Regions from separate parts of the Homo sapiens genome. Here all the other regions are linked to region 6. Evidence: promoter capture Hi-C in 16 types of primary human blood cells and fetal thymus (Javierre and others, 2016). All regions are on one chromosome and are shown on one strand. Each heading gives the region's core, a stretch centred on a gene start or on the middle of the fragment in contact. The rest is flanking DNA. Distances are from core to core; before and after follow the strand shown. Region 1 overlaps BANK1 (B cell scaffold protein with ankyrin repeats 1). Region 2 overlaps BANK1 (B cell scaffold protein with ankyrin repeats 1). Region 3 overlaps SLC39A8 (solute carrier family 39 member 8). Region 4 overlaps BANK1 (B cell scaffold protein with ankyrin repeats 1). Region 5 overlaps SLC39A8 (solute carrier family 39 member 8). Region 6 holds the start of PPP3CA (protein phosphatase 3 catalytic subunit alpha). Region 7 overlaps BANK1 (B cell scaffold protein with ankyrin repeats 1).

Region 1 (3,536 bases), core at 815-3,314, 650 kb before region 6:
CCATTAATGATAGACTGGATAAAGCAAATGTGACACATATACAACATGGAGTACTATGCAGCCATAAAGAAGAATGAGTTCATGTCCTTTGCAGGGACATAGGTGAAGTTGGAAACCATCATTCTCAGCAAACTAACACAGGAACAGAAAACCAAATACCACATGTTCTCACTCATAAGAGGGAGCTGAATCAGAACGCATGGACACAGGGAGGGGAACATCACACACCAGGGCCTGTCAGGTGGTGGGGGGTTAGGGGAAGGATAGCATTAGGAGAAATACCTAATGTAGATGACGGGTTGATGGGTGCAGCAAACCACCATGGCACATGTATACCTATGCAACAAACTGGCACGTTCTGCACATGTCTCCCAAAACTTAAAGTATAATTTTAAAAAAGAGGCAATATCAAAAAGTAAATTATGACAATAAGAATTCAAAAGTTGGGATAAAAAAAGAGACAACTTTTTTTGTTGTTGTTATAAACCTTGTAAAATGATTGGCTTCTCAGCTGTGACCCCATGAAACTTCTCTGTGCAATAAAGTGATTTTTCTAGTTTCACTCTCATTTTGAAATTGAAGAATTTTAAATATCACAAGAAATGTACTACCATGAATGAGAAAGATACGATAGGAATCAAAAGATACAGGTTTCCTGCTTTGCTAACAATGAGCTGAGTGTTTTTCCTCATCTACAAAATGAGGGAGTTGGAATAATTGATCTCTAAGGCCCCTATCAGCCCTAACATACTGCTTTTCTGATTCCATTTTCATGCACCATGTACAACAGCATGTAGCCACTTCCTTTTTCTTAAATTGACATGATGCAATTATATTTTTTAAAAAAACAGATTCTATCAATTAATTAGGAAAACAAATAATTGCTAACATTAGACAGATGGTGAAACTCTCTCAAAGTAGGGCAGACAAAATAATGTACAACCCTGTCCAAAAGCAAAAGGGTCATTTATGAGTGAATCCTCGCCTTGCAGAAATCCTCCAGATGTTTTGTTTCCATCAGGAATAGTCTGTGAATACAATAAGCATTTCTGTAGCATCCATCATAATAGCTCCTGGGCTCTAAATACTGTACACTGCAAACTGAAGACTGGATCAGATAACTCATTCTTTAATTGGAATTTAACAAAACTTAGATATGTTCCTTTTGTTAAAGTCTCTGAAAAAAATACGTCATACTTATTTTTCCTCAACTTTTAATCCAAAATGAATCATAAGATATTAAGCCTGGAGGAGACCTTAGTCCAAATGCTCCATCTCACAGATAAAGAAACAGAAGCCCAGTGCGATGAGGTGCTATGCACAAGGTCACAGACTCAAGGATTAGCAGTACTGACAGGGTCAGGGCCTAGGCCTCTGACTGTATGGCACCATGTAGACAAAGACAACAATATCTAATAGAGCCAGTGTGAGCTTGTTATTAAAGTAAAAATAAATCAGGAGAAACCAAGCAAATATAAAATTGGTAAGAAAAGCTTAAACTGCAAATTCTTGGTAGATCTTTTGGAAAATGGAATCTGGAAGGCATTTAGCCAAAAGCTTTACATCATCTACTGTGTTGTGCCAGCTTTTTAATTTGGCAGAAATAAAGGAATATTCTCCGTAATCAAACGCCCTGCCCAGGATTCTGGGCTATAATAAATTAATGAAGTGAGTTTCTTCTCTCTATTAGATTATCAGTGGCTACAATTTTTCAAGACAGAGATAATAAAATATCATACCATAAAGTGCTCTATCAGCATGCATTTCTTCAGTGCCAAGTAATTATTAATGCTGGAAAGGAAATATGCTTGGTCAGCTTTGGCAATGTATTTAAAAATGTCAGGCCCTGAAAGTCTGTATACCTCCACGCCCCAGTTTACCACATTTACTCCCTAAGCTGTACTTCCCTCTTGCTGTTGCTTTCTGTAACAAAGCATTCTAGAATCAGAAAAATGAAAGGGTTTCATGGAGATTCACTAGGCTAGTAGTTCAGGAGAGAAGAAAGTAAATTGCCAAAAAGCTACTGATGATTGCTACTGCTGGTGAAAGCCTAACCAGAAAGTATGAGAAAACGATGTACAACTTTTTCCAGCTGTTTTAGGCCTCCTGTTTTAGAATTACTTCCCATTTCTTTCAAAACTAGAGCATGCAGACATGCATACTTACAGCCACTCACTTAGGCAGGTCCAGTACAGAATCAATGACTAGATTCACAGTTAACAGATTACATAAAATCCTGACCCAGAAAGATGGAAAATAACTTATGGTCTCCATGAGAGCCAACTGTGCCGTTAAGAGTGGTCTGGATTAGCTGTCCAGGGGATCAACAACAGTTCCTAAAGGGCTTGTGAACCTACACATTTAGGACGACTGTAGGGTGATCGACCTGAGACTGTCTAAATTTTAGCTCTGAAAGTCCTGAATCCTAGGAAAACCCTCAGTTCTGGGCGACAGAGATAGTTGGTTCACCATTGTGGTGGTGGTGCTTCTTAAGTACCTTTTTTAGATCTCCGAGTATTTGAGGAATCAGATAATATTTTGACACAAAATAAAAACATGCTTGAAGCTTAAGTAATAGATATTTACTTCCATTATCTTTTGATGTTTAGCAGGTCATCTAGCATATGTTATGAACTTTGGGAAATGTATCATCTTGTTCTTTATTTATTTGCAATTTAAATGAAGCCAGGTGGGGAGAAGTTGTGTGCAGAATTAGTCATACTCCAAAGAGATATGTAAAAAGAAAAATCCTGAATAATGTTTCTATGTGCTTTTCTAACATGGTTTCTATGAACTTTTCTAACATGGTTTCTATGAACTGCTGCACACATCACGCTTATGTCTAAACACAAGCTGTATAAAAAGACTGGTAAGATAATGGTAAAAAAATTTTGAATTTAAAAGTACATAATCCAAGATATTTTTGTCTGAACAAAAAAATATTATTGTGCCCATATTTCCTATGCCATGATTTTGTGATTTTGGTTGGGAGGTTTTACTTACAAATATCTACATTATTTTGTAGCCCTTCTTTTTAAAATTATATTCATAGTTGATTTTATTGAGAAATCCACTGGTCATCAATGCATGATTTCACAAACATTCTTGTTGATTTATAGTTTTAAAAGTCATTGTTCTTTGTTCTTCCCATTGAACTAAAATGTCAACATGGTTCAGTAAGAAAAGCACATGATTAGAGTGATAATAAAAACTGAGTTCAATTTTTAGCATGACAATCTACTAGCCAAATAATTTTAACAAGCCTCTAAACATCCCTGAGCCTCCTATTTTTCATCTGCAAATTGAAGGGTTTCCGTAACATGGGTTGAAAGCATTTCTTATGTCCTACATACCCACATGAACCAAAAGGCAGTGGTTCATTTGCTCTCAGGCTTCAGGCAGAATTTTACATGTTTGTAGGTGGTGGTGAGTATTTCATGGAAACCTTCTCTCTGTGTATCCCTTAAAGACTAGGTCTGCGATGAGAAAGAGATGACCCAACCAGACATGTACATGTATGTGCAAATACACACGTA
Region 2 (3,438 bases), core at 664-3,163, 520 kb before region 6:
CTATCCCCTGTTACAGTACAGCTTGATCTGGTCTGAGATCCCAGTCTCAGATTTTGTTTTCTCTAATCCCACAATACTTCTAGGTGCCCTCATGACAGTTGCAAAACCTCTAAACCTGCCTTAAATTACATAAATTAAACAATCTCTTAATGTCTCTCCTTGCCATGCCATGGTTTGCTGCCACTGGGTTAGAGTAATTCTGTCCATCATTACTCAGACCTCTGACTTAAAATGGCTCTCTCCTGATGGTAAAACCTGAATCATCCTGTGCCTGCCCAACATTCTCCCTTCTACAGGCCGCCAGAGCTTGGTGGTAGAGAAAAATCCTTGAGAAAAGCAATGACCCTTTCTTTCCCCTCATTTCCAGTACAGAGGGTAAAAATGAAACAGCATTTTTCTACTTATCTAAAAACTAGCAAACTCACTTTTTGTTTTCACTTCAAGCTGTAAAAGAAATCATGACTTGTGTATTTATAGCATCCTGACCAATTGTCCAGGAGTCATAAATTACATTTAATTTTTACTATATTCAAAGATCCCCACCCACAACAGAAAGACCAACAGAAAATATGTTTGGAGACTACTTTACTTCTACACTGACTGGATAGTCACAATGCAATATATTACCTTTATTAATCTTTTTTGTTATGAATATAATTTTTAAGTAGAGGATAAGGTGGACTTGTCACAAGAAAATGAAACAGTCTGTTTTTTAAGCTATTACTTTTCTACTTGCTTTGGAATTACAATATAGACATTTTGTCAAATGTCCTCAGACTCTCCATTTTGACAAATGTTATTTCACTACCTGTCTTAATGTTTACCTTTTCTGTTGTTCTAAAATATGTCGTTCATATAATATAAAAATAAAACCCTAATAGAAAAATGTGTCACATGAAATAACAAATCCTCCAATTCTAAACTAGTTTAAACACATAAAGCTTCATGAAAACTTGTCAGCTACATTATCATTGACAGTTTTGTTAAAAACCTTACAGGTTTTTATGGTAAATTTGAAGATAGGTTTTTATGGTAAATTTTATGGTAAATTTGAAGATACTTCGACTTCCTTTCTCTACCCTCTTCTACCTCTCACCCACGCAAAAAACTGAGACAAATAAGCAAAGTTACAATTCTAGTTATCAAATTGTTATAAATAGAAATGGCATTTCACTCTGAAAATTTGATGGAATAAGCACATATTCCCAATAAACATCACAAAGAAAAAATAATTTTCACAATCAGATAACAATGATAAATGAAACTAAGAAAAACATACACTGAGCTTAGATGTGTCCACATGAAAGTAACAATTTCTAGATTGACACCACACGTTCCCTTTTTGGTGATATTTTGGTTTGTCTAACTCCTTAATCTCAAAGCATGAGACAGATGATTAGACTTTCATTTTACTTTGTGTTATGCAGATCTGAATAAAGAAGGAATTCATTTCTTAGGAGTTCTTTCTAATTGCTCTCCCTTTATCTGCTTGTAACAGCTTTAAAATGAGCCCATCACAATGGCTACCTTGTAATGAATAAGCTGTTTTCCATTGACATTATCTGTTTTTTTTTGACCTAGGCAAAGTAATTTGTCTGCATTTTGGCACAACAGAGGTTGCCTCTTCCCTTCCTATTGATTGGTAGTAATTCACTGTTATTCAATCCACATTCAAACTTATACCAAAGCATGAATCCTCTTATCCTTCATTAGCTCTTCAGCTTACATTATGATTAACTTCGTGGAAAGATTAACTTACCTGGCACAAACTCTCTCCTGAATCTGCCATTCTGAATAGGCATTCCTTTGCCTTTGCTGTTGGGTAGTACTTAATTTTGGTTGTAGCTTTAACGATTCCATCACAGTAGACATTGACATGGACTGAACCAGCAGGAAACTCTTATGAAAAACAAACAAGGGTTAGGGGCAGAGTATATAATGCATATTCATACTATTACATCTTTTAGAGAATATAAAAGAAGCCTTTAAAAATTCATAACACTTTTACTCATCTCTAGCACTTAAAATCATTTTTAAAATTCTTGGTAGTTGGAAAACACAAAATGAAATGTACAATTTTAGACTTATTTGCTTAAAAATAAACTTAAAATATAAAAACATGTTAAAATAACAATAAAAGTAAAGCACTAAATTATTTGTCCCTACTTACTTACTAGTATAACTTTTCTTTGTAATAATCTATAATCTTTACATAATTCTTTAGAATTTGGAAAAGTATAGCCATTTATCAAAAGTTAGGTATTTATTATTTATCTTATGAAAACAATTTAATTAATTACAGGCAAGTGTCTCAAAAATAGTAATTTGAAAGAGTACAGCTGATTTAAATGATACAATTTGTATTCAATTGACTGCAATGAAAAATCCTGGGAAAGGCAAGGTTTAATCCCCTGATACTGAAGTACTGTTTACATCATACATTCATCCAAAGCCTTTTTGAGAACAAGTTGTTCAAAATGAATGATACACTACATTGTGAATTGTGCTGTAATATATGAGCAGAATTAAAGTTATATAAGAATTTAGGACTTTCTATGAAAGAATATCAATAAACAATCATTTCAATAAAAAAGTTATTGTGTTTTAGTGTAAGAATACTAAACAAAATGTAATTCTTTAAATTCATCTGTGGAACAAATTTTAAGTGCTTTTAATCTGTCATTGAGATATTTCCCAAATTCTCCCAGAAAACTGTCACTCAAATATCTAGGGTTAGGAATAGGTCATTAAATATAAGAGCTTTGAATATTTAAAAGTTTTTAAGGATTAAGTATTAATTTCACTTTATCTCATGAAGCTGTTAAAGGACTTCTTATAATATTGCTGAGGGAAACTTAAATGCAACGAAAGCAATCTTAAGCTTAACTAGGTCAAGGAGCTGAAATTTCTTCCTCATATTTCTTGAGTAGACACCTCGCCTGTATTACAAAGAAGATGCATGTAGAAAAATAGGAGCTCTCTCTTCCCAAAGAAGTATCCATCCAATAGAGAATGTAAGAGAAATTACAACAAACAAAAATGAAAGTTTTAAAGCACATCTCATCAGCTACAGCAGTACGCATATGGTAATGGAAGTTCTGGAGTTATTGGAGTCAAATGAAATCAATTTCAGTAGATTTTATAAAGATAAATTTAAATTTAAATGTTATGATAAGTCATAAAAATTATTTTGAAATAAGATATTAATTTTGTTTATCACAAAAGAGATTAGGAGTTTTACCATGGGGAGTTAACTTTTTGAAAGAAAATCGGTAATGAATCAGGAGAGGTATATGGTGAGATTTGCTTGGTAGTTTTTTGATACAGAGTAGATAAATATTCTATATATTTTTAATCTAACATGAAACTGAACTGATTTATTTCTTATATATTGAATCCTTAGTTAACTCAAAATTTTACTGGTGGATCTACCGATAA
Region 3 (3,459 bases), core at 187-2,686, 990 kb before region 6:
ATTGGAGGAGACATGACATATGCACATATAATTATAATGCACGAAACAGTGATATGCCTGATTAAGGAACTAACCCATTTATGCCTGAGGTTGCAATTTTTTGAATTTTTGCAATCAGACCTTGGCAATGACCTTGAGCAGTGGGATATAAATAACTCCCACATGCTTAGTGTTTCAATAATGGAACACTAGGAATAAATGTGTTTAAAAACCAATGTGAGATAAGACCTGTGTTTTCAGAACATTAATCTGACATGAGAGTGTGGAATGTATTGGAGTGGGTCAAGGTGGGAGCTAAGGAGCCATCTGCAGTGGATTTCATGAGATGTAAGGACCACTTGAATTTGGAGAAACTCAGAAGGTAATATAAAGGCTCTGCCTTCAGAGACTTCAAGAAGAGCAGGCATGGCTGAAGAGTATGCAAAAGGCCCCAAAGATAAGCCTTTTCTATTTCAATATTTTGCCTGTAATCATTATTTATTTAAGTATTGCTAGATCTCTTCCTTCATTATCTTCTGACCCTGTGATGCCAGAAGGAGAAAGAATAACTCCGGGCTCATATTAATGGATGGCCAGGCTAGTGGTATGTAGCAAAAAGGAGTGTATGTATGTGTGTGGATACTGCAAACATGTTTTTTGCATTGCCTGTTGTCATCTACTGCACTTTTTCCTGGGGTGGGGGTAATGATGGGTTAGATGAGGGTGTTTCTGGGAAGCACTGACTATGGACAGAAGAGATAAAGAACATTTGTTCTTTTTTTTTTTTCCCCTTTATGTGCTGAGAAATGGTGGGGGTAAACCTTCTAGGAATGCCTTCTAACCTGCTTGTTCAGGTGAGAAACTGGAAGGGCAGGACAGAGGGTGAGGTTACCTAGGTCTCTTGTTAAGAATCCTCCAAGACAATGGCCCCATTCTGATCTATTAGATCACTCTCACATAAGTTGATTGTGTACAGTGTGTTGATTGTATTTCAAGGCTTTGGGAAAATGAGGGACATTCGTAATTCATTTGACTGTGATGTCAAGAGCTTAGTTTGCCTTGATGCCAGGTGTGATTGGGATCCATTAGGAAAATGCTTTTCATTCCTTTCATATCTAACTCCCAAAATCACATCTTTACCCACTATTCTAGGAGTCATATGAACCCTTTTATATGTAATGTAATAATTATAGCTAGGATTTATTAATCTTTTACTGTGTGGCATTACTCCCTTAACCAATTTATTTGTATTATCATGTTTCATACTCATACCAACTCTATGATAAAGGTCCCATTATTATCTTCATTTTATGTGTAAGAAAAATGTGGCACAGAGAGGTTAAGTAACTGGACCAACGTCACGAAGTAAGTGGTAGAACCTCAGGCAGTCTTACACACTATGCTATAGTGCATTTTTTGAATTACAATCTAGAAAACCATACTTTCTCTAGCTAGAGCAACCATGACCTTAGATTTTGAACTACAGGGAGAAGTTACTAGTCATCGACTGCCTATCTGGTTACATTGCTTAGTCACATTAAGGAAATGGTACTAGAGCTGTGGAGGCTACGATGATGATGACTTGTCTTTGTCCTCAGAGACCTTATAATTAAGAAATAAGATGGAGGCTGGGCGCGGTGGCTAACGCCTGTAATCCCAGCACTTTGGGAGGCTGAGGGGGGCAGATCACAAGGTCAGGAGATCGAGACCATCCTGGTTAACATGGTGAAACCCCATCTCTACTAAAAATACAAAAAATTAGCCGGGAGTAGTGGTGGGTGCCTGTAGTCCCAGCTACTCAGGAGGCTGAGGCAGGAGAATGGCGTGAACCCGGGAGGCAGAGCTTGCAGTGAGCCGAGATGGCGCCACTGCACTCCAGCCTGGGTGACAAAGTAAGACTCCGTCTCGAAAAAAAAAAAAAAAAAGAAATAAGATGGAAACTGTGAAAAGTGACTATGGAAGGCAAAGCTGCAGTAATCACGAAAGCAGACATTGTAAAACATATCACAAGGCCATATATGATTGTCACATGGATACTAGAAAACATCTGCTACTAGTTTAGAAAGGTGAGGGATTTTTTGGGGTTGGAAATGCCTCATGGAAAAGTTATAACTCAGTCAATTTGGCTTATCTGGTTTGGTTTTTAAAAAATTTATTGATTGAACTCTTGCTTATACCAAATGTGATGAATTTTCATGTGAATTACATGAATTCTTTTTTAGAGGATGAAATTTTCTTTTATTGTTTCATATATAATGAATTTTTTTAAGGGACTATATTTTGAGCAACAATAGTACTTTCTTCTATGGATAGACTTCAGGCATGTCTAGTATGAAACCTTTCAGTTCATTTCTCACTTTTATGCTAGAAGTTTTCGGCCAATGAATCCACTGTCTCTTCTGGCGGTTTAGAATGGAAATCTTCCCTTATGATGCCTCTGAAGCAATTGCATTCTTAACTGCACAACACTGGAGAAAGTGGTTTGTGCATAGGTGTTGGGGAATGAGTTGAAGCAAGGAGGGAAGAGTAGGTGAGCCGAGCCAAGTACTTCAACAGAATCACTGACTCTTAACTATAGGTAAGACAGTGCTGCTAGGAGGCAGTTTGAGCTTTCTCACACAGTTATCAGGTGAACTTTCCATAATTGGGATAGATCTTTCTCTCTAGGGATGTTCCCTAGGGTTGTTCTCTCATCTGGGTGGGAGATTTGCAGCTGTTATGCTTTCCATGATTTATTCTTATCTTGGGATATATTGAGGGGCAGGGACTTAGTTTTCTGCTTTCTAGTCATAAAAACCTATTACTTTTCAACCATAATAATTGTTTAAAGGTGTTTTCTTTAAATTTAATATACTTTTGATTCTTTTTTTTTTTTTTTGAGAAAAGTGAATTCCTTTTGGTGGTAGTAGGGATTGGGGGAGAAAAATAGGAATATAAATAGAAATGGAAAATAAGGCCTGAAGTTGAGAAGGATCAGTGATCCTCAGGAAAAGAAAAGCAACATCTAATGAAGGCAATTTAATGTGGCTGGTAATGGGTTTGCAAGTTACTTGTATTCCAAGTGGTGTTTCCTCAAGGGATGTACACATTACTAAGTGCAAACAGCTAGTATTAGGGTCATTTACAATGCAATTTATTTTAAAAAAAGAATGTTACTAAACTCTAGGCTATCTAAAAAACTAGGTAATTTTCAGAATTTTCCCATTTCCAACTTTATATAACAGTAGATTCCTGTTTGTAATCAAAACTAATTAATTTATTCTCAAATTATTCCCAATTGTCTGTTTCAGTAGCCTTGAGATTTATTTTATAAAGAAATGAACCTTTCATCGAATTACCTTTGTGTTGATAGGATTTGGGAGCATAGAAAACATTCAGAATGGAGCCTTGTTTAATTTGGCTTCCGTCTCTTTCTAAAGATACTCTGTTGTTTTTCCTGGCCTGAAGTTTAAGGAGAATAAAAACAAAAATCTGTTGAGT
Region 4 (3,632 bases), core at 181-2,680, 630 kb before region 6:
TGATATAAGGTCAGAAAATACATGAAAGAAAGAAATTAGAAGAACTCAGAGACTACATTTGTCTGGAAATAATTGTATTCTTAAGAATTGTGGTCCTGATGCTCCAATTAAGTTAATAGCCAATAAAGTGGAAGAATGGGCCACATCACAGGAATATCTTGATTTAATAAATAACAACACAGTTTATGATGAAAAAGATACAAATAGTCACATTTAACGACCACAGTGACAAGAACAATTTTGGGGCTAATCTGCGTCATTAGTGCTGTTTAAAATATTTTGATGCTCCTCTTTTGGGCACATCATAAAGTTGGACTACACTTCTCTCTCCTCCTTGAGTTAGGCTTGGCCATGTGCCTGGCTTTGTCAGGAAGCTTTAAGAACCAGTGTGTGATTCACCACATTCCCTTCCTTATGCTGCAAGAAGCATGGAAATATGAGTAATGATGAAGTCTGCCAGGCTGGGTCCTTAGTGATTATGATGAGCAGAAGCCCCAAGCTGAACTGCTTTCAATGTGCAGTGTAAATGAGTGTCATCTTTAGCCACTGAGAATTCTGTGTTTTCTGTTATTGCAGCTAGCCTATCCTGACTGAAACAGCATCTCTTGGAATTCAGGGACTTTCTTCATCCCTGACTACATGCATCAGACTTAATTAGATGCACAAAATCTGGATGACTTTCACAACACTAAAGTAATTTTACTTTCTAATTCATAATATTTGCTGATTCATATTATTACTTTTGTTATAATAGAAATAAATTGAATACTGCATCCTGTAAAATAATGCTACCTGAATATTCCACCGTAAGATTCAGCTTGCATACAAAATCTCTGATACTTTTAAATCTTTTACAAGTTGCCCACATGACATGCCTGTTTTGACTAAGTTTGCAGATGATTTATTTTCTTAACATTGTTGTTCTAAAGAATAAGATTTTCAGAAGCACCAGTTATAAAACTGACTAAACTCAGATAAATTTTATGATATTCATAGGAAGCATATGGCATTCTAGTGATAATCAAATGAAATTTATAATTGCAAATTAAAATATGATGTTTATCTGGCATGTGAAGGGAGCAAACCTGGACTCTTTATTATCCAAAATTTCCATTTAGATATATTAATGCTCAAAGCAGAAAATTGTCTAATCAATACTTTACTCTGGCTAGAAAATTAAAGAAAATGTCAGGATGCCAATTCTACATGTACTCTCTGAATTAAATATGCCATTAAAATAACTCAAAATCTCTTCAGCCATCTTTTTGTGTATTATTTTTGTGTATTCTTTGCCAGCATTAATCAGAATCCTGGATAGTTCAATACTTTCCCACTTCACAGGAAAGTCTCAGACTTAGAAGATTAGTTTAGAAAATGGAGAAACCTAACCCCTACTCTCAGCATCTTGTGTTATTACTATCGATTTTCCCTGTGGCATTGAAGTATAGATCCAGAGACAGCCAAGCTGTATTTAGAATACTGAAAAGAGGCAACAAAGAGCAATATCTCTAATTCACTGCTTATGACCACAGGAACTTCAGATCTTTGGACAAACTGGAAACCTGAGATGTTTCTTTAAATGCCTTTCAGCGCTAGTTTATACACATACAAGGTGCTGAAAATTATTTACTGAATGAATTAATTTCTAATCAGCTTCTTCCCCTGGTTTGGGGAGGATATGTTGTAGGAAAAGGTCTTTGAGAAAAGACCTTTGAGAGTCTAAAAGAAAGGATAGCATATCTGAATGCGGAAATTCGCACAGAGAAAGGACGGAAGTTATCAAACACTATTGGTGGTTATAATCAGTCACTGGTTCCATTCTCATTATAACAATATGAATATTCATTTATTTATTCATTTAATAAAGTGATTGATCATTTGCCACATCCTTGATCTGTGCTCATTACTAAGGATAAAGAGCAGAAACAGCACTCAAAAAGATTTCAGCTTATCAGAAAATCCAGCAAATAAAACAAATGATAATAATTCCAGCTAACATTGAGTGTTATTGCTAGCCACTAATAAAACCACTTTTAATGCATTAACTCATTTAGTCCTTGCAATAATCTTATGAAGGTGGTGATTTTATTATTAGCACTGCCATTTTACAGATGAGGAAACAGACACAGAGAGAACTGTCTCTGGACAAATAACTAGAAAGAGGCAGAGCAAAGTTTTGAACCAAAGAAGTCTGCCTGCACATTCCATGCTCTAACCACCATATTCTACAATCTCTCTAATGAACTGTAATGGCTTCAAGACCAGAGGAAATATAAAAAGCAGTAAGCCTTTATGATGGGCATAATTTAGATAGTCTAGACTTACATGAACAACTCATCTTTAACTGGAGATCTGATGAAGTTAAATAATTTATATCATTGCTCTCAGTCTGAATAAAAGGAAAAAAGAGTTAGCTAAATGTGTTTAATGACAATCTAAATGTTATCTCCAAATCTGCTTATATGATTTATTTAAAACAAGCTTAGATGAACTCTCCTATCATAGAAGAAACTACTTGTGAAGTCAGTTCTTCCTTCTAAGGATTTTGGAGAATTTTTCCACTGACATCTCTGAAAATGGCTTTAGAATAAAGCAGATTTTTTTCCCCCAGTCCCTCTCTCTCTTTTGTTAAGCAATTGGGAAGCCATGTTTATTAGTTTGGCTTGTAGGTTACAATGAGCACACTGCACCTAAATGTTTCAGTTTATTTATTTATTCTGAGACGGAGTTTCACTCTTGTTGCTCAGGCTGGAGTGCAACGGCATGATCTTGGCTCACTGCAACCTCCACTTCCCAGGTTCAAGTGATTCTCCTGCCTCAGCCTCCCGAGTAGCTGGGATTACAGGCACCTGCCACCGTGCCCAGCTAATTTTTTTTTTTTTTGTATTTTTAGTAAAGATGGGGTTTCACCATGTTGGCCAGGCTGGTCTCGAACTCCTGACATCAGGTATAGAGCTATGTTCTCAAGATGAAACTCATAATGAAAAAGTCAGTATCACAAAGGGTAGAGTAGAATCTCAATAAGACATAACACAAGAGCTACAGTTTAAAATGTATTAGATTTAGGGCCATATAACATTACTGGCAAAAATCTGTTACTGCACAACAAACTATTGGAGACCATGGAATTATTTGGCACAGTGGAAGGTTGTTATTATCAGTCCATTGCTGGCAATCTTACTTTCAATCTAAGAAGCTAGTGATGACATGAGATAAACTTGCACTGCTCTAGTGATTAAACTGATGAAAAGGTAGGAGGTATTATGAACATTACAACTCCTCTCTCTGCTTTTTATCCAATGTGGCAGAAATTTTATAGTATTTAGGCAGGTTGTTTACAAACATGTTTATGATTTTGAGAGGGAAATGATTAAAGTAAAAGGAGTGAAAGCGGCTAATAGCTAAATGCTGCCCTCCATAACTGAAGAATAGAAGAATAAACAAATAGTTGTTTCAGTTCAATTGTCTCCACTCAGTTAGGTTTTTTGACATAAAACAAGATTATTACATGGAAAAGAAGCAGAGAAAGTATTTAAATATTTCTAAATAGGAATATTTATTATTTAAATTCATTTAATAATACATTCTTTTTCTCCTTGAGACAATAAGTATTTACTGAACACCCACCCTAC
Region 5 (3,438 bases), core at 855-3,354, 920 kb before region 6:
CTCCCGGGTTCACACCATCCTCCTGCCTCAGCCTCCTGAGTAGCTGGGACTACAGGCGCCCACCACCACTCCCAGCTAATTTTTTTTATTAGTATTTTTAGTAGAGACGGGGTTTCACCATGTTAGCCAGGATGGTCTCGATCTCCTGACCTCGTGATCTGCTTGTGTCGGCCTCCCAAAGTAATATATTTTTTGTATAGACGAGGTCTAGTTATGTTGTTCAGGTTGGTCTTGAACACCTGGCCTCAAGCAGTCCTCCCCCTTGGCATCCCATAGTGCTGGGATTACTGGCAGGAGCCCCTGAGCCTGACTTATACCCCTTTTACTCTCACCTCTTGGTTCCTGGATTTGTGCATTCTCTACAGCAGAGATGACACCATATACTTGGCTGCCCAACCTATGAACAGAACTCCAACCTCTCAGGGTGTTATCTCTTGGCTTGCACCCTGGCTGAGGCTTCATCAGGACATTTCATCATTCTGTCAAACTGGTTGCTACTAGAGGGTGCAGGTGATGTGATCCATGAATTATATGTATTGAGCCCACTGTCTCACTTCCTTTGCTAAAAAATGGTTAGGAGATAGTTTTCACAGGAAACCTTGGCTATATATCAGTTGCACTATAAGTCCATGAATGATGGTGCTTGCAGAGGCACTGAAGGCAGGGAAGACATATATTGTATATGTCTATCTTTGTGAGTCCAAGAGCATCCCCTTATAATGGGAGGAATCCAGTGGAATCATTCTGCTACCACATACAGCCACCTGGTCCTCTTGCCCTGTTGGACAGTGATAGCTTTTTGGGGGCTCAGCATCAGCCTTGGCTTTTGAAGTTTGGGACTTCTTTAGTGCTGGAAAGCCAGATTCCCCCTGGTAGGAGAAGAGAATGCTGAACCTATATATATCCTCCCTCTGCACCACTCTGTGCTTTATATGTGGGTCCATTAAGCAAACATTTGGATGGTTGATGAAGGATACTGAGTGACAATCAGATTTTCTTGTTCACTTTATTACTGAAGCTATCCTCTGTGATGGCCTTTTATGAGATTTAGTGGAATAGAATTAGATTCACATTCTGTACTTATTAAAAGAGACTCTTCCATATATTCTTCACCTCCTCCTTTGTGTCCTTCTTGTCTGTCCTTATCTTTCTCCTCCTTTTAGTCCTCTTCCTGCTCCTCTTACTCATGCTTGCTCGTTTCCTTCTCCTTGTTCTCCCTGTTTTCCTTTTCCTCCTTCTCCACATGCTCCACCTTGTCCTCCTCCTAATCATCCTTCTCTTCATCCTCTTCCTCATCCTCCTTCTCATCCTCCTTATACTTGTCTTCCTCCTCCTCCTCCTCATGCTACTTCTCCCTTTCCTTGTGCTCCCTATTCCCCCAGGCCTCCTCATCCTCTACAACTTTCTCCTCCTTCCTTAAACTGTTCTGCAATAAGCCCATTTGTTTTCTCCATTTTAATTTCTAAGTACTTTTTTTGAAAAAAATTTTGTTTTTTGCCCTCCAATTTATGTTGGGATTCAACATAGTCTCCCTCTATTTTTTTAACTTTGGTGCATGATATTCTTTCTCCCCCATTCTGATAACACTACACATTGCTTTGACTTCCATCCCCATTAATAACTAAGTGAAAGGTGTTACAAGTCTTGCTGAAGATTACACGGTAATTCTTCTCACAGCCAAGCTTGAACTCAGTTTTAGATTCCAGACTTAGTGTCTTTTCACTAGGCTGAATTGCCTCATCATGGCTGAGGATAGAAATAGCCTCATATTTAGAGTAAAACTCAGACAAGAAAGCAAGCAAGTGAACAACAATAACAATAGAAAACAAAAATTTAAAAAGGAAAGAGAGAGATAGGCATATTCACTAATTTAACTACAGGAACTTGAATTTAGTGTTCTCTCTGCTCAGTGATTTAATTCTAGGTGAATTAAAAAAGAAGTTTCTGTGAAGGTTTGCTGACTTTGGTTTGTTCCAAAACTATTAAAAATGTATAACTCTTACCTGCTCAACAGTATCATTTGGGACCAAAGCATGAGGCATAATAAATAGAGTCAATAATATCTGTACTTAGAGGTATGAGAATCATTCCTGATATATTAATTTAATTTCTTCTGTAAAATTAAGGGTGTTTGTATACAGACTCTGTAGTGATATCAGGTAGTCAAGACTTGGTTTTGTAGTCTTCTTCTGAAGTCATCACAATAAGGAAATTTTAAACATGTAATTAGACAAATTAGATTGGAAGATGAAAACAACTGCTTTAATTCAAAATAATCTCATTAAGTATATCACGGCATTAAGTTTTACAAAGCCCAGGTCACTTCCTCTGTGGCTTTCCCTATGACCACCTTTGTTTCTCCTTCAGCTGTAATTGCTTCCCGCTCTGGGGCATTTTTTATGCAAACTACCCGATCCACCTGTGCTAAATTATGATTGTTTATTGTGTTGTGCGTTTAAGATACAGCTATAAAATAAAAAGCCCACATTTTAAGAAAAGATAGAATTTTTTATGCGGATAAGCTTTGTTTCTTAAAATAAAAAAGATTTGATACTTACTCAATGTTGCATCAAGCGTTCAGAAGAGTTTTCTGAGAGGTGGGGAAGTCTCCTTGCGAATTACCTTCAGATCCTATTACAGAGAAGAATTCCCATCCCCGATATGTGTGTAGTAGTAAAGCACTGTTGCCAAAAATGCCCATTCACTCTTTTTTTGTATCTCTGGGTAAGTTTACCAACCTTTTTGTGCTTTAATTTCCTCAACTATAAAATGATGGTAACAGTTGTACTTTCCTCATAGAATTGTTCCAAATGAATTCGGTATTTGAAGTGCTTAGAACAGTGCCTAGCACATTATAAATGCTATGTGCCTTTGCTGTTACTATTTCTACTACGACCACATTGGTGATGACAATGATGATGAATCCTATTACTAACAGTTTCCCATTCATTTCATATTAATTAAAAAAATATTTGCTCCAAATGCTTTTATCTGTGCCTACAAACAAACAAAAATCCAAAGGTGCAGATTTGCCACTAACGAAATAGTAAAGAGATGTATTGCAGGATCTAAGGCTGATTCTGAAAGTGTTGGTCCCCAAAGTGTTTGGAGTGGTGAAGTGATATTGGAGTAACTGTAAAACCTCTTAGATGGTTGCTCTGAAGTAAGCCCCTCTCTGTTGGATATATATTGCATGTTTTTTTTTTAATGTATCCATATATATTATGACTTGTTTCTCCAATGTAAATACACTTCTTGAAGACAGAAGCTGTGTTTTCCATTTCTGTGTATTTCCTATAGCATTCAACAGAGTGTTTTACAAATTTCAGAAGTTCAATAAATGTAATGATTAGCTGCTTAGGTAGAGGTGAGAGGAGGAGAATTAGGAATAAAATGTTCTCCAGTTAATTGCAAAGTGCTTTTGTACTTAAAAATGAA
Region 6 (3,675 bases), core at 851-3,350:
TCCTGGTCTTTCTGAAGCAGGCCCTCTTCACCCACAGGTCTTGGCATCGCTCCCTGTGTGCCATCTGGCCAGGGACCAACTTCCCAAATCTGCCTTAGCAACTAGCTCTGCCCGTGCTCAGGAGGCTGTTTCCAACAACCCCTTCCTGAGATTACAGTGACCTCTCAGAGCTCATAATTTTATGTTCTCTGAAAATTTTAGGCTTTATTGAGGGCAAGGACAATTTTCAAATACACTCCCTCCCCACCTAATTACCCACCACAAAGTCTGGCATATAAATAAAAGGAGTACAGAAAATATCTTTATTGAATGAATTGTCTAATTGCCACCCAGTATCCTGGGGTTGGAAATTGGGCAGCAGAATCTCAGTGCCAGTGGCAGCCTCCCTATCTTGGTGGGACACACCCTGCGTCTGCTCCTTTTGCTAGGCCTCCACAGAGGTATCTAGTGTGTGTTTCTATTCCGTGCAGTCCACATCAAAGTCACGCTGCAGCACAATCAGTCTCTTACTCAAAATTGATTTTCAAGTTTGAGCTTTAATCTAATCCTTGTCTCCAAAACATTTCTTTTGGCTTCATCTCCCAGCTCCCTAAACTTTTTTTTTTGTTTTTGTTTTCTTTGTGTGTGTGTGTGTGTGTGTGTGTGTGTGTGTGTATTTTAAACCTTTTATTGGACCCGTGGTCCAATTGAGGAAATAGGAAAAACCTGATACTGAAGGACTTTGGAAATAAAACAGGAAACATGAAGGGTGAGAAATTTATTCAGATTTCTTCATAATTCCCCCCAAAAGCTCCAACCACGTTGCCAGTCCTTGGGTGCTGCAGTTGGTCGGGGAGAGGGGCTGTGTGGAGGTCACCTTCTGGTAGACGGAGACCCGCTTTTCAGACTCTGTGGCGCAGCAGGCGGGCCAGGAACATTTGGGCCACTATTGCTCTTAGCCCTGCCGCGCCTGACTTTCTCTCCTCTACTTTCCTTCCGACCGTAGGGACAAGTGTGGGGATCCGCTTTGGGCTCCAAGGCCCTGCCCGCACTGGCAGCACCAAGCGGGTGTAGAATGACTGGAAGGAGCAGGGAAGGAAGATGGGTGTCAACTGTCCCGGCCAGTGGCTGCGTGCATGTGTGTGTGAACAGGGAAAAGGCCACCCTCTCCCATGTTTCTCCCGTCTCCTCGGTTCTCCTCGGAGACCCGCAGGGCTGCCCGAGGTAGCTCCGAGTTGCCCTGGGTCGCTGGGGCTTGGTCCGCATCCTCCTCCGCTAGTCCGCTCCCGCGTTCCACAGCGCCCCGCCGCTCGGTGTGCACGCCTGGGTGGGACACAGTAACAGCCCCTAAGCCGCCAACGCAAAAGCAAAAACAACCGTACACCGCATCGCAGTCGTAGCTCTTCTCCGCAAGGTAAGTTGTTTATTCGTCGCCGTTTTGGCGATCCTCCCTGGACAGCTGCGGCAGCGACGGCAGCTGCGCCGCGGGCGCCGAGCTCCCAGCCTCTTCCTTCCTCCGCCCTCTCAGGGCTGCCTCTCACCCCCACCCTCTTCCCTCCTATCCCCGCCTTCTCTCTTCTTGCCCTCTTGTGGGCCACGCACACACCCGGAGACACCCTCTGCACTTGGCTACTCACACTGCGGCTTAACCCAGCCGACAAGGCACGCTTGCCAAAGAGGCGCGGGTGTGTGTGTGCGGGGTCCGCGTTCGGAGGCCAAAGGAGGGTGGCGTGGTAGAGCCCTTCTCCTCCTGGCCGCGACGCCTTGCCCACTCTCCTGCCCTAATCTCGGCCTGCCAGCAAAAGTGACACCTGAGCAGGGACTGGTCCGTAGAGGCGGCAGGCCCGCTGGTCCGGCAGCTGGAAGAAAACAGAGCAAGGGGCGGGGACAATGAGGAGGAGCGGGAGGCGGGACAAGCGGGGAGGCCGCCACCTGGCACTGAGTGATGCGCCCTCTAGCCAATGAACGCGAGGAACTCCGGCGTCGGGGCGGGAGGTCGGGGGCGGGCTCAGTGGGGAGGAGGAGGCTGCAGGCGCGCAAGAGGCGGGGGCCGGGAGGAGGAAGGGGAGGAGGCGGAGGCGGGCGCGGTGTTGGCGGCGGCGGCGGCGGCGGAGGGGGGTAGGTTGTGCCCGGGACTGTGTCTGCCGAGCTCGGCGGCTGTGCCTTGGTGAGTGGAGGAGCGGCGCGGGGAGGCAGAGGCGAGCGCGGGCGATCGCGGCGGCGGGACGTCTCCGGCGGCCGCGGCACCAGCGGCGGCGCTCTGTGTGGAGAAGCAGGGGCAGCGGCAGCAGCAACAGCGGCAGCGGCAGCAGCAGCGGCAGCAGCGGCGGCCGCCTCTCCGCCGCCGGGGACGCCAAGGTGCGGCTGGTGGCACTGACATCGGCGGCCCTGCCTCTCCTCCCTCGCCCCCGGCCTTCCCCATGTGATCGGTCTTAATCCTGGCCGTGTGTGCGCGCGTGGGGCTCCATTCCGCGGTGCTGGGTCTCCGTGCCGGGGTGGGTGCTCGTGTGTGCGCTTCTCCTCCCCATCCCCCTTCCCCCAAGAATAAAAGAAGAACCGGGAGGCGTGCTCAGAAAATAAATAAATAACCACCACACACGCGCAGCCCGGAGCGAGTCGGCGGGGCTGGCGGCAGCGGCGGAGGAGGAGTGAAGGCGGCGGCGGCGGAGGAGGGACGCGCGGAAAAGGCAGCAACTTTAAAGCCAGCTCAGAGCCTAGACCTCCAGCCGAGCGGTTTGCAGCGCGGCGGCGGCGGCGGCGGCGGCGGCGTTGAGTGTCTGGCCCGCCGGTCCGGTCGGGGTGTGCAGTCGGACGGACGAGCAGCGCGTCGCTGTCCTCCGGCAGCTGGAGATGTCCGAGCCCAAGGCAATTGATCCCAAGTTGTCGACGACCGACAGGGTGGTGAAAGGTAAGCGGAGCGCCGCGGTGGCCTGGGTGCACCGTGTGCCGCAGGCGCCAGGGCAGCTTGCCTCGCCTCGCCTTTCCTCCCCTCCCCCGCCCCAGGTTCTCCTCTGTCCGCTCCAGCCGCGGACCTTCTAGGATATTGTGCAACCCGCGAACCCCGCGAACCCCCCGCCCCCGCGGCGCCCTTCCCCCACGCGTCCCACCCAGCCTCACTTGGGGCATTTTTATTGACGGGGGCGTCAGTTGGCAAATGGCTGAGCCGCGGGGAGGTGGCGGCGGGGGTGGCGGTGGTGGGAGGGGGCGCCCGGGGGGTGGTTGCTGGTAGGGTGTAGCTGCTGTGACAGAAATAGGAAGTGGGTGGCTCTGCTCACAGGCTTGCATGGGATCGGGTTTATGGTTTTCTTCTGCAGAGGGAGGGGTGATTGATGGCTTTTTAAAAATTAATACGGCATTTTTATGTGGCCGTGGCTTTCCACCGACTGCCTCACTTGGGCAGGGTTGTCTTGGAGCTCCATTGCAGCAATTCCCTCCGCGCCCCCCTCCCCCTCCCCCTCCCCCTGGAAGGGCCTGCACAGGACTCGCGAGAGAGCGGGAGAGCGTGGGGGGAGCCCGGCGCTTCCTTCCGCGCGGGGCGGGGGCGGGGGCGGTCGCTGGCTGGAGGGTGGCCGCGGGGGGCGCGGGAGGCGGGGAACGACCTGAGAGCACCAGCCGTTGCCGCCCCGGGATTTCCCCCGCACGCCCCGGGGAGAGACACGAAAACCACTTCTCCAGCCTCTCTTGCCATCCCCGGCT
Region 7 (3,580 bases), core at 184-2,683, 540 kb before region 6:
TGAATTTCTTTAAAAAAAAAATAAGTAACACACAGGAAAGCAAGAAAAAAAAAATAACAAATGAAAACAGAGAAAATTAAAAACAAAAAATAGAGTGGATTTAAAAATATGATTTAACTATATGTTCTCTTTATAATAATAATTATAAAATTTATTTATTTTTTATAATAAATAAAATCAGGTTTTTATAATAAATAAAATTATACTTTAATAATATTTATAATAAGTAAAATTAGCAGGTTTAAGTAGAAGAATAAAACAGATATAGCATGCAAAAATTACAAAGGAAAGCAAAAATGGCTATATTAATATCAATAAAATAGACATCAGAGCAAAAAAATTTACAGGAGACAGAAAGGGACCTTATATAATGATAGAGTCAATCCATCAAGAGGACATAGTAATCCTGAATACATATGCACCAAAAAACAAAACTTCAAAAAATGTGAAGGAAAAATGGACAGAACTGAAAGGAGAAACAGACAACTCCACAATGACAGTGATGACTTAAATATCTCTCTTTCTACAATTGGTAGACAGAAAATCAGGAAAAAATAAAAAAATTCAAACACACCATCATCCCAATGATCTAACCAATCAGCATCAATCCACATACATAGACCACTCCATCCAGTAACAGCAGAATACATTCTTTCCAAGGGTTTGAGAAACTTATACCAAGATAGATCATATCCTGAGGCATAAAACAAATATTAACAAATTTAGAATAATTTAAATCATACAGTGTCTTTTCTGACCGCATGGAATCAAACTAGAAATCCATAACAGAAAGATCATAGGAAAGTGTCCAAATATTAAGAAACCAAACAACAATGCTACTAAGTAATCTGTGGGTCAAAAGGAAACTCTGAACAGAATTTTAAAAATACATTAAACTGAATGAAAGTGAAATACAACATATCAAAATTTTTGGAACATAGCTAAAGGAGGGCTGAGAAAATTTTATAATACATTGGAAAAGAGAGAAAGTCTCAAATCAATTATCTAGGTTCCTACTTCAAGAATTCAGAAAAAGAACATAACAATCTCAAAGCAAGCAGAACAAGAGAACAAAAAGTATAACAGCTGAACTCAAAATTGAAAGTATGAAAACAATAAAGAAAAACTATAGTAACAAGTGATTCTTTTTTTTTTTTTTTTTTTTTTTTGAGACGGAGTCTCGCTCTGTCGCCCAGGCCGGACTGCGGACTGCAGTGGCGCAATCTCGGCTCACTGCAAGCTCCGCTTCCCGGGTTCACGCCATTCTCCTGCCTCAGCCTCCCGAGTAGCTGGGACTACAGGCGCCCGCCACCGCGCCCGGCTAATTTTTTGTATTTTTAGTAGAGACGGGGTTTCACCTTGTTAGCCAGGATGGTCTCGATCTCCTGACCTCATGATCCACCCGCCTCGGCCTGTGATTCTTTTAAAAGATCAATAAAATTGACAAACTTCTAGCAAGACTTACAAAGAAAAATAGGGAGAAAATGCAGATTACAAATATCACAAATGAAAAAAAAGATATCAATACAAACCCTGCAGACATCAAAAGAATAAAAGGGAGTATATGAACAATTCTACATACATGAGTTTGATGATTTAGATGAAATGAACCAAGTCCTTGAAAAACACAAACTACCATAATACACAGTCCCTTTCTATATAACCTACAACTATATATGAATGTACAATTATCTAAAAAATAAGTTTAATTAAATACTAACGATCCCCCCAAATATTTATTACACAAAACTGAATTCCTTGAGATATATAGATACTTATATAAAAGCACCCCTTCGAAGTTGGATTTCACTCCTCTCTTTGATGAGGGGTGTGAACACTGAGCAAAATGGCATCGAGAGGCTGTATTTGAAAGCATTTTAGGACAGTATTACATAATGTAAATAGCTGGGAAGTATTTCAGATCACTGGAGTGCTGTAAAAGGATATGTTATAGGAATAAGCATGCAATGAACGGATTCAAACAGTTTAACTAATAGTAATAACTACCACATGCGGAGCACTGCTAATGTGCCAGGCTCTATATAAGCTATCTCTAACTTTTATAACATCCTGCAAGGTAGATTTTTCTAAATGTCTACTTTTATAGAGGTGATAAGCATGATACAAAAAATTCAGTAACACGCAAATTGGCAGAGCTAATAAGTGGTAAATAAAGATTCTAACTTAGATCTTTACATTCTAAACACAGTAAATTTAATCCTACATTCTAATCGTGGAGAGAAGGATAAAATCTGAAATAGTATTTAAGTAAAGAATAAATTATGCTCCCATGGCTTCAAGATCACCACTGCAGTTCCCAACATTATACTGATGTTTAGCCAGAAAGAGGGAGGAAAGTGATGTGTGTGGGAGGTAGGGGTACTGGGAGAGGGGGCTACAGCCAACCATATCTATTCTTTTTCTCTGTTTAACCAGAAAAGCAAAAGTTTCAAAGATGTCCCCTTGTGTCTCGTTGTTGAAAACTCTCTCACGTGATATGTCTAACTGCAAGGTTAGTTAAAAATGTTGGAATCTGGTCTTTCTAGCTTCCATAAATGGAGGTAGGCCAAGAAGTATCTAAAAGGAAAGTCAACGGTTGAGCTGAAAACAGCCTTGCTCTTCTTCTTATAACAAATTGCTGTGCTTGTTTAAGTTTCACTAGTAAAAGAAAGGTCATCTCATTTGTTGCTCTGTTCTTAAATGTGTGCCATGAAAGAGAGCCAAAACAGCCGTTTAAAGTGAAATTTGATAAATAGTTTACATATCTTTAAAAAAATCTTACTGCAGCTTGTAAAGAAAATGATAGAAAAAAAGAGCAAAGCAAATGTTTTCTAGGGTTATGCAAAGATTTTTTAAAAACTTTATACGTGCTCAGCTCAAAGCAGTTAATTTAAAATAATAATGTAAATGTATAAATCTAAAAGAGATATTTTCTTTTATCAACTTAATTTTCTGTTTTGAATGAATCATTTCTTTGAATTGCAATATCTGTGACTATAAATATAAAAACAAACATATAAAACAATGAAAATGATTTTATATGTATTATTGATTAGGTTTTCATATAGTTGTAGAATCTCTTTAAATACTTGCAAGTGGTATTATTACATGAAGAAAATATGTTTTGAGATTCAAGGAATCTGCATTTAAATGCCTGCTCCAGGACTCATTAGCTATGAATCTCAATAATAATTAACTGACAGAATTTTTTAGAAGTTTAAATGTAAATATTAAATGTAATCTTGTAAGTGTAGATATGCAAAATTTCCAGTAAAAATTCTATTTTCTCTAAATACTATTATGTGAACTCTTAGATACAAAAACTCATGAAATGTAATCATGATATAAGAAGAGCATGTAAGTCTAGCAATAAGGAGATGTGACCCTCCAAACTGGCTTTTCCACTGACAAAACACATAGTCTGTTTATTATTTTTAAATTCTTAAATTAAATAACGCATAACTTTTAAATTAGTTAGAATGTAGATTTTGCTATTGCAATACAGAGACCCAAAGTGATAGTGGCTTAAACAAGAAAGAAACCCTGGATTTAGGCATCGAGGCCCTTTCTGTCTAGAGTT

The links. Contacts are between HindIII fragments. The CHiCAGO score rates a contact against its expected background, and 5 or more counts as called.
Region 1: a contact is called between a fragment that was not itself captured here and the fragment with the promoter of PPP3CA in region 6, in 1 of 17 cell types (total B cells). The highest score is 6.0, in total B cells.
Region 2: a fragment that was not itself captured here is called in contact with the fragment with the promoter of PPP3CA in region 6 in 2 of 17 cell types (naive B cells and total B cells); the score reaches 8.3 in naive B cells.
Region 3: a fragment that was not itself captured here is called in contact with the fragment with the promoter of PPP3CA in region 6 in 1 of 17 cell types (fetal thymus); the score reaches 8.9 in fetal thymus.
Region 4: a fragment that was not itself captured here is called in contact with the fragment with the promoter of PPP3CA in region 6 in 1 of 17 cell types (naive B cells); the score reaches 6.3 in naive B cells.
Region 5: a fragment that was not itself captured here is called in contact with the fragment with the promoter of PPP3CA in region 6 in 1 of 17 cell types (erythroblasts); the score reaches 6.7 in erythroblasts.
Region 7: a contact is called between a fragment that was not itself captured here and the fragment with the promoter of PPP3CA in region 6, in 1 of 17 cell types (total B cells). The highest score is 6.2, in total B cells.

Annotation. Positions count from the first base shown.
Region 1 is chr4:101,991,816-101,995,351 of GRCh38, reverse strand. The region is part of intron 7 of BANK1 (B cell scaffold protein with ankyrin repeats 1); the gene reads right to left. Among named protein-coding and RNA genes, the nearest start is that of BANK1, 200 kb to the right of the region's middle. The HindIII fragment of the contact is 1,009 bases long and covers 1,560-2,568 here.
Region 2 is chr4:101,868,966-101,872,403 of GRCh38, reverse strand. It overlaps BANK1 (B cell scaffold protein with ankyrin repeats 1), which reads right to left. Exons shown (of 17, transcript NM_017935.5): 5 at 1,760-1,899. Among named protein-coding and RNA genes, the nearest start is that of BANK1, 80 kb to the right of the region's middle. The HindIII fragment of the contact is 1,940 bases long and covers 944-2,883 here.
Region 3 is chr4:102,336,632-102,340,090 of GRCh38, reverse strand. The region is part of intron 2 of SLC39A8 (solute carrier family 39 member 8); the gene reads left to right. Among named protein-coding and RNA genes, the nearest start is that of SLC39A8, 7.1 kb to the left of the region's middle. The HindIII fragment of the contact is 4,591 bases long and covers 1-3,459 here.
Region 4 is chr4:101,974,045-101,977,676 of GRCh38, reverse strand. All of the region lies in intron 7 of BANK1 (B cell scaffold protein with ankyrin repeats 1), which reads right to left. Among named protein-coding and RNA genes, the nearest start is that of BANK1, 190 kb to the right of the region's middle. RefSeq lists a silencer at 338-538. The HindIII fragment of the contact is 2,107 bases long and covers 377-2,483 here.
Region 5 is chr4:102,268,931-102,272,368 of GRCh38, reverse strand. All of the region lies in intron 6 of SLC39A8 (solute carrier family 39 member 8), which reads left to right. Among named protein-coding and RNA genes, the nearest start is that of SLC39A8, 75 kb to the left of the region's middle. The HindIII fragment of the contact is 840 bases long and covers 1,685-2,524 here.
Region 6 is chr4:101,345,951-101,349,625 of GRCh38, reverse strand. PPP3CA (protein phosphatase 3 catalytic subunit alpha) reads left to right here and starts at 2,100. Exons shown (of 14, transcript NM_000944.5): 1 at 2,100-2,887. The coding sequence starts at 2,830. It overlaps PPP3CA-DT (PPP3CA divergent transcript), which reads right to left and starts at 1,849. Exons shown (of 2, transcript NR_033874.1): 1 at 1,617-1,849; 2 at 743-1,302. RefSeq lists silencers at 1,865-2,474, 2,945-3,304, 3,325-3,675. The HindIII fragment of the contact is 5,765 bases long and covers 1-3,675 here.
Region 7 is chr4:101,887,194-101,890,773 of GRCh38, reverse strand. The region is part of intron 5 of BANK1 (B cell scaffold protein with ankyrin repeats 1); the gene reads right to left. Among named protein-coding and RNA genes, the nearest start is that of BANK1, 98 kb to the right of the region's middle. The HindIII fragment of the contact is 5,086 bases long and covers 1-3,580 here.